2 separate regions of the Homo sapiens genome follow, and region 2 is linked to region 1. The links are contacts of gene promoters, found by promoter capture Hi-C in human tissues and cell types (Jung and others, 2019). All regions are on one chromosome and are shown on one strand. The core of a region is centred on a gene start or on the middle of the fragment in contact, and the rest is flanking DNA. Distances in the headings are between cores, read along the strand shown.

Region 1 (4,407 bases), core at 552-3,051:
CTTGGCTCACCACAACCTCTGCCTCCCTGGGTTCAAGCGATTCTCCTGCCTCAGCCTCCTGAGTAGCTGGGATTACAGGCATGCACCACCACACCCAACTAATTTTGTATTTTTAGTAGAGATGGGGTTTCTCCATGTTGGTCAGGCTGGTCTCAAACTCCTAACCTCAGGTGATCCGTCCGCCTCGGCCTCCCAAAGTGCTGGGATTACAGGCGTGAGCCACCACCCCCAGCCTTACTTAGGAATTTTCTAAAGGGGAGACTCCCTATTTTGTCAGGATTTCATCCTCTTTAATCCTAAATGTCCATCTTTATATGAGGATCCTCATAAAAAGACTCATCCCAGAGTCACAGAAAGGACAAAATGAAATGAAAAAAGAAAAAAAAACAGTATTGTAAAAGAACTAATCTGTAAGATGCAAAGTAGTATTAGCACTGGATTTCCGGTCAGCTCCTGGAGGGCTAAGGGGTTGTTTTGTTCATTTCAGCTTCTCAGTCAGTATCAGTTGGGTGGTCAACTCCAGGGGACACTATTCATGTTATATTTAACTGGAAGAATTTGCCATTCACAGAAAAGGCAATGTGAATGCTGCTCCCCAGAGCACCATTCACAGAAAATGCAATGTGAATGGTGCCTCCTGGAGATTTTGCCTTGCTTAGCAAGGTGCTAGAGCTAAGGACTCAGAAATGTTTGTTAAGTGAGTGAATGGAATCCCAGGCTACTTCTTACTCATTCCAACCCCCAGGACGAAAAAGAAAAGTTGACAAGGGGTGAGGAGAGTGGGGGAGGAGAAAGGGTGATCCTTAGCTACAAGGCTTCTATGAGATTGGGTGTGGGTCGGTGCTGATGGGAGTGCAGGGGAGGTGAGCAGGGAGAGGATACTAAAGCAAGCGTCCTGTTCCCAGGGTTCCTAATTTTCCTAGAAATATTACTTCTCTCCGATCTCAGTGCAGAACCATACTGATGATTTTACAGCCCTGGATTTGTCAAGTTCTTATGTTGATGTATGCTGTTCATTCATTAAACAGAAGAACAAACAAACGCAGTTAGCGCCTACCATAAGCCAAATTCTGTGCTGGAGGTAGAGTGGTGAACAGGACAGCAAAGGTTCTACCCCGCATGGGGAAGCAATCACCCTCGGGAGGTGGTACTTCAATTGCGACTAGAAGAAAAAAGAAGAGTGAGTGATTCAGACCAGGCCAGGCAGTCAGGAAGCTTGAGGGACATAGCCCTCTGAAGCGGGTCTGGAGCAAGGGAGTGAGGGAGACCAGTGGACAGGGGCCAAATCAGGCAGGGTTTGTGGAGACTGTATTTTACCCAAGGTAATTGGGAGCCAGTAAATAATTTTAAGAAAAAAAAAGTGATATGGGCAAATTTTAATTTTTCAAAATGGAGCGCAGGTTGGAAGAGGCAAAAGTAGAGGCAGGGAGAGCCATTAAGAAGCTACTGCGGCTGTCTTGGCGACACATGATGGTGTCTTTAACCAGGGTGGTGCCAGAAGAGATGGAGAGAAGTGGATAGTTACAGGTACGTTTAGGAAGTAAAATCCGACAGGGGTGGTGACAGTAAACAGCCCTACCTCAAAAAAGATCATGGAAAACACTTCAGTTTGCTCATTAACCCATCAGGCGTCCGCCTTCCCTTAACCCTATCGCCTCGATATATGGACACAGCAGGGGGACGAGGGGCGGGGCAGGCGCCCACAAAAATCCGGGAACTTTAATTTAAACTGTGTGGACTTCAGCGGAGAGTAGAATAAAGAACACAGGAACTTCCGGTTACTCCGGAAGTGGAAGCTTCATACTCCTAAGCTCCTCCCCCGGCGGCGAGCCAGGGAGAAAGGATGGCCGGCCTGGCGGCGCGGTTGGTCCTGCTAGCTGGGGCAGCGGCGCTGGCGAGCGGCTCCCAGGGCGACCGTGAGCCGGTGTACCGCGACTGCGTACTGCAGTGCGAAGAGCAGAACTGCTCTGGGGGCGCTCTGAATCACTTCCGCTCCCGCCAGCCAATCTACATGAGTCTAGCAGGTAAGCCCCACCCCCACGGTAAGCCCCGCCCATTTGTCTTGCTCCCGCCCCCTGCGCCCCCAATACGCCTCTGCAATCCCTGAACCTTAGTTTCCCCACGAGGTCTCTTATGAATGTGAGTGAAGCCCCTAAGGTGATGAGAGCCTTACCAGCCTCTCTTACTTTCCCAGAAGCTTTCATTTACTTATTTGTTCAGTCAAAAGGGTATTTATTAAATACATTCGGGCCACAATGTCTAGGAATGGCACAGAAATCAGACCAGGGTCCCGCCCATTGGGACTCACAGTCCCCACGGGGACATGAGCCTTTTCAAGTGCAAGGCAGAGAATGATTTGAGCCCCTGAAAGACTCTTTGATTAGGAAGCATTTGGGATAGGAAGGTGTCAGTTCCGGCTTTGAAGACGTGGGGGCAGGGATCATCTTGGAACGTTTTGTTTGAAGGAGGGACTTTGGACTGGTACATTCGATTTGGACCATAGTGGGCAAAGAACCAACGTATTGAGCACTCACTGTGTGACAGGTGTCACAATATGTCAAGTAATTTTTATCACACCCTTTGAGATAGTTTCTCTAATCCCAGTTTTACAGATGGGGATTAGAGAGATTAAATGCCCTGCCCAAGGTCACACAGCCAGTATGTAGTAAAGTGGAGTTTCCAGTTCTGGCCTGTTTGACCACAAGCTTGTCCTCTTTACTATTATACCACTTTGCATTCCAGACAGAGGGAACAGAGAGAATGGATGCCCTGGGCAGATGTGGGCACATCCAGGAGCTTTATTTACTCAGGGAGCAGGGTACATGAACAGGAGTAGTGACCAATACGGTTGGAAAGGCAATTTGGAGCCTCAAAAGTCAGGTTGAAGAATTTGGGCTTCATTTTCATAGGAAGGGAGTAAGATAGCAAGAACTCCTTCCAGGAGAGTAAGAGCAAATCCTATATTCAGGAAGGACAAATATAAACCCAGGTTTCCATAGATGAGTTCATCAGATGCCAACATCTTGATGGACTTGAGCAAAAGGAGAGGAAATGTCTGCCAAGGTAGAAAGATCATCTGAGCCCTGGAGTTCAAGACTAGCCTAGGCAACATGACAAGATGCCTTCTCTACAAAAAATAAAAGAATTAGCCAGACATTGTGGTCTCGCTACTTGGGAGGCTGAGGTGGGAGGATCGTTTGAGCCCAGGAGGTCAAGGCTGTGGTGAGCCATGCTCTCCCCACTGCACTCCAGCCTGGATGAAAGAGCGAGACCCTGTCTCAAAAAAAAAAAAAAAAAAAAAATGCCGGGTGCGGTGGCTCGTGCCTGCAATCCCCGCACTTTAGGTGGCAGAGGCAGGCAGATAACCTGAGGTTGGGAGTTCAAGACCACCCTGACCAACATGGAGAAACCCCATCTCTACTAAAAATACAAAATTAGTTGGGTGTGGTGGTGCATGCCTGTAATCCCAGCTACTCGGGAGCCTGAGGCAGGAGAATCGCTTGAACCCAGGAGGCGGAGGTTGCAGTGAACCGAGATCGCACCATTGCACTCCAGCCTGGGCAACAAAAACAAAACTGTCTCAAAAAAACAAACAAAAAAAAGACGAATATCTCTAATTGCTCACTAAAATATGCATACATACGTACATACACCTTCCCCTATGTGTACATCTCATCATCTCTCATTCATTCAAAGGGGAAGCTAGAATTTTGAGATTTCTCCTGGTTCTCTCCAACTTACAGGCCCTCTTGGCCTACATTTGCGCTTGGACCCCATTCATGCTCTCTCTTTCCTCTCTGTGCTGGGGAGTTCACCAGGCCACATTTGTCTGTTTCAGGCTGGACCTGTCGGGACGACTGTAAGTATGAGTGTATGTGGGTCACCGTTGGGCTCTACCTCCAGGAAGGTCACAAAGTGCCTCAGTTCCATGGCAAGGTGAGTTGGAGGGTCAGGGTAGGCATATGGTAGTAGCGTGGTAGGAGTAATATACCCCCTGGTTGGACCACACTGTCCAAGCAGTCTGAGGCATGGGGTAATGCGTGTGTGTTTGGGGCAGCTACCTGTTCTCCCCAAAATCTGCTGGTTTCCATAGAATTGGATAGGACCCATGTGTCCTGCCTCTGGATTTGGAGTAGCAATATCTGGAAGGCTTTGGAGTCTCCCCAGAGAGTGGTGCTGGGCCTCTTAGAGTGGTTGAGATGCCCACCTTACTGCAGGGACAAATTCCCTTACCTACTGTGGCTTGTTTCCTGTTGCTTCTCCAGTAGGGGTCTGGATTCACAGTAATATGCTTCAGCTTGTCTAGCGAGGCACAGTTTGCTGGTACCTTTCTTTCTTTTGTTTTTTGTTTTTTGTTTTTTTTTTTGAGATGGAGTCTCCCTCTGTCGCCCAGGCTGGAGTGCAGTG
Region 2 (4,302 bases), core at 1,040-3,539, 580 kb before region 1:
TTCTGACCCATGCATTCGGTATGGTGGTGGGGGAGGGGGAGCATCCCTGGCACCATTTCGGATCACAGGTGGTGGGGGTGGAGGAGCTGCAATTAAAATCCAAAGTAGTTAGGTTTGGATGTGGAGACGGCAAGGGGTAGAATGACTTGAAACACATGAGCTAAAAGAGTAACACACCCCACAGAGGCTCACAGTGCCTGGTTCCCCTTTGTCCTTATTACTTGAACAGCATCACCATTCTTCCAGATACCAACATTCAGAATAAATGTATGGCCTTTTTACATTTCCTACCAGTCAGTCAGAACCCTATCTGTTCTTGATTTTTTTCCTGCTTTTCCATGCCTTCCTCCACAATTCTAATTCAGGTCTTCCTTATATTTAGCCTGTTCTCTACTGCAAAAGCCTTCCGAATGTTCTCCTTGCTTTGTCTCTTACCCCTCCAAATTCATTTTGCATAACACCAACTCACCAACCTCCCTAAAAACTTGATCCAGTTTTTTCAAAGGCTTTGCACTGCCTAAATCATAAAGTCTCAAACTGTGGCTGGGTGTGATGGCTCACGTCTATAATCCTAGCACTTTGGGAGGCCGAGGCGGGAGGATTGCCTGAGCTCAGCAGTTGGAGACCAGCCTGGGCAACATGATGAAACTCCATCTCTACTAAAAATACAAAAAATTAGCCCGGTGTGGTGGCGTGTGCCTGTAGTCCCAGCTCCTCAGGAGGCTGAGGCACAAGAATCACTTGAACCTGGGAGGTGGAGGTTGCAGTGAGCCCAGATTGTGCCACTGCACTCCAGCCTGGGCAACAGAGAGAGACTCCATCTCAAATACATAAATAAGTAAAAAAATAAAGTCTCAAAGCCTTTGCTTACATAGTAACCTACCACACCAATCAGCTTGAGCTTGGCTTCTCCTCTTCCCTTCTTATTGCTAGGCTAGGTTAGGAGCCCTCCTCTGCACTTCCACTGCAGCTTGTGCATACCTACCACTTGAATAGACTATTATAATTATTTATTCTGTGTGCTCTTTCCCCAGTATACTGTGTACCCCTTGATGTCAGAGCAGTTCCTCCTTCTGGGTTCCCAAGTTCAGCCAAATGTACAGCACACAGCAGGTGCTCAATCAATGTTTGCTGAATAAACCAAATTATATGCTTTGCTCTTGTGACTCCCCTCACAATATTCTGATATCCCCCCTTCCCTTACTACCAAATCCTCCCTACCCTTCAAGGTTCAATCCAAGTCCCATCTTCTCAAGGCTTTCCCAAAGCAATCCATTTTCTTCTGAGTCCCTCCACCTCTGCTCTCCCACAGCATATACAGGCTATGTCACTTACTCTAATATCAATGAGCGATTTTCAAAATATATACAGCAGATTCATTGTGGGAAGTTACATATGTCCAGTAACAGTCTCATTGCTCAAACACTGCAAACACCTCTTTTGGAATTGCCTCCAAAGCAAGTTTATCAGTCAGAGCTGTAAACACTATTATATGATGGTCACATTTCATTTCTGAGGTCGCCCCACCACCATCACCAATGAAAATATTCATACCTATGCCAGGCACGGTGGCTCACGCCTGTAATCCCAGCACTTTGGGAGGCCGAGGCGGGAGGATCACCTGAGGTCGGGAGTTCGAGACCAGCCTGATCAACATGGAGAAACCCAGTCTCTATTAAAATACAAAAATTAGCCAGATGTGGTGGTGCATGCCTGTAATCCCAGCTACTCGGAAGGCTGAGGCAGGAGAATTGCTTGAACCCAAGAGGCGGAGGTTGCGGTGATCCAAGATCGTGCCATTGCACTCCAGCCTGGGCAACAAGAACAAAACTCTGCCTCAAAAAAAAAAAAAAGAAAATGTTCATACCTATGTCTGAATCTGCTTTTTGGTGATTCCAAAAATCAAATTCACTCTTAAAAGATGAAAATTTGCCACCAAGTAGAAGGTAACGTCAAAAGCATGTGTCAAGAAATGGCAATATGACTGGAATATAATAGATTCTAACGTGTTTGTCTTACTCCTATGCTCTGTATTAACTAACAATAATAGCAGCTACCATTTATTGGGTATCTATTATGTTCCAGGCATTTTCGGTGTATTAAATCTTTAAAAAGTCTTATAGCCACACATGCGAAGTATGTAATATTATCCCCATTTCACAAATGAGAAAACTGGGACTCAGGTTATTTGTTTAAGGTCACAGATCAAATAAAAATAGGCAAGGCACATGTCTGCTCTTTCTACTCTCCCACACTGCTTTTCGTAACTCCCAGTATTCTGCATAGTATCTTCCCAACCAGATTTACAATCCAGTGGCTTGGAAGTGCATCTTTTGGTATCTAGGCCATGTTCAATTTTTTTTTTTTTTTAAGAGACAGGGTCTCACTCTGTCACCCAGGTTAAAGCGCAGTGGTGGAATCATAGCTCAGTGCAGCTTCAAACTCCTGGGCTCAAGCAATGCTCCCGCCTCAGCAAAGGGCTGGGATTATAGGCATGTGCCACAGCACGTGGCCCAATAAATAGTTGTGACCTAAATAGTATGTGAAGAGACTACTCAGCTTAACAGACAAAACTGTTTTTAGTAGTAAAACGGTATCTTGGCTAGGCATAGTGGCTCACATCTGTAATCCCAACACTCTGGGAGGCTGAGGCAGGCAGATTGCTTGATGCCAGGAGTTCGAGATCAGCCTGGGCAACATGATGAAACCTCACCTCAAATTTTAAAAAAGTACAAAAATTAGCCAAGCGTGGTGGCACACGCCTGCAATCCCAGATATTCTGGAGCCTGAGGTGGGAGGAGCTTGAACCTGGGAGATGGAGGCTGCAATAAGCCAACATCGCGCCACTGCACTCCAGCCTGGTGACACAGCAAGACTGTCTCAAAGAAAAGAGTATCTTATTATTCCTCCTGATTACTATCAGAATTGCTGTAGTGACTATAGTTAAGCATGTAACACAGTAATAGAATAACATACACACACACACACACACAATCTGGCACAATAAGCCCAATAAATGTTTTTGCTTCCCGTAAGACACACTCAGAATGTCAACTCTTCCTCACTGTTTCCAAGCTTTGTTCAGTAGAAACAGGGGACACTAGATGCAATAATTAAAGAGAAATCTTGTAACTCCCAGCAGATCTCTGAGCCTTGTTTTGATTCCAAATCTACTCAAACTAAAGCTCTTTAAGAATAGAAGCTTCTTTAAGCCCTCAAAAATATTCCCTAAAACCCAGATTCCTCAAGGCCCTGAGAATTTGTATCTACTCCTAGGCCAGGGCAGCAAGGTAAACAGGGTTAGCCAGGTTCACAAGGACACCGACACCAGCTAGACACCAGGCAGGTGACAGCGATGAGACGACCTGGAATGGCAAAATAGAGCAGGGTAAGAGTGATCTGTTTGGCTTCTCCAGCTCCCTCCCTCATCCCAGCCAGGTTCTGCTGTCTCCAATAAGCTTCTGGGCTCTTTGTCAGATCCAGTTATTTTTCTTTTTTTTTTTTTTTTTTGAGACGGAGTCTCGCTCTGTCCCCCAGGCTTGAGTACAGTGGCACGATCTCGGCTTACTGCAAGCTCCGCCTCCCGGGTTCATGCCACTCTCCTGCCTCAGCCTCCCCAGTAGCTGGGACTACAGGCACCCGCCACCACGCCCGGCTCATTTTTGTATTTTTAGTAGAGAGACAGGGTTTCACCGTGTTAGCCAGGATGGTCTCAATCTCCTGACCTCATGATCTGCCCGCCTCAGCCTCCCAAAGTGCTGGGATTACAGGCATGAGCCACCGCACCCGGCCCCAGATCCAGTTTTAAGACTGTTTCAAGTGACAGAGCCAGAACTCCAGTCCCTAAAAAACAATTTCCAAAAGAAGTCCTGGGATGGGAGACAGGCTTTTGTAATCCAAGATTAACCCTAATTTTGAGAAAAGTATGATGGTTTCTATTTTTCTCAAATTCCCTTAAAAATGGACAGTGTTGGCGGGTGCAGTGGCTCATGCCTATAATCCCAGCACTTTGGGAGGCCAAGGCAGGCGGATCACAAGGTCAGGAGATAGAGACCATCCTGGCTAACATGGTGAAACCCCATCTCTACTAAAGATACAAAAAAATTAGTCGGGTATGGTAGCGGGTGCCTGCAGTCCCAGCTACTCGGGAGGCTGAGGCAGGAGAATGGCGTGAACCTGGGAGGTGGAGCTTGCAGTGAGCCGAGATCGCGCCACTGCACTCCAGCCTGGGCGACAGAGCAAGACTCCATCTCAAAAAAAAAAAAAAAAAAAAAAGACAGTGTTTTACTCTGCAAAGAAAAA

What was found. The method cuts DNA at HindIII sites, captures the fragments that hold promoters and counts their contacts. A contact is called where the count stands out against the background at its distance.
Region 2: a contact is called between a fragment that was not itself captured here and the fragment with the promoter of PGAP3 in region 1, in 1 of the 25 tissues and cell types used here (aorta).

Annotation. Positions count from the first base shown.
Region 1 is chr17:39,685,451-39,689,857 of GRCh38, reverse strand. It overlaps PGAP3 (post-GPI attachment to proteins phospholipase 3), which reads left to right and starts at 1,801. Exons shown (of 8, transcript NM_033419.5): 1 at 1,801-2,024; 2 at 3,839-3,936. The coding sequence starts at 1,844. It also overlaps a transcript of ERBB2 not described here. RefSeq lists a silencer at 428-722 and enhancers at 2-962, 1,673-1,782. The HindIII fragment of the contact is 945 bases long and covers 1,507-2,451 here.
Region 2 is chr17:40,269,574-40,273,875 of GRCh38, reverse strand. WIPF2 (WAS/WASL interacting protein family member 2) reads right to left here. Exons shown (of 8, transcript NM_133264.5): 6 at 1-86. Among named protein-coding and RNA genes, the nearest start is that of CDC6, 16 kb to the left of the region's middle. The HindIII fragment of the contact is 6,236 bases long and covers 1-4,302 here.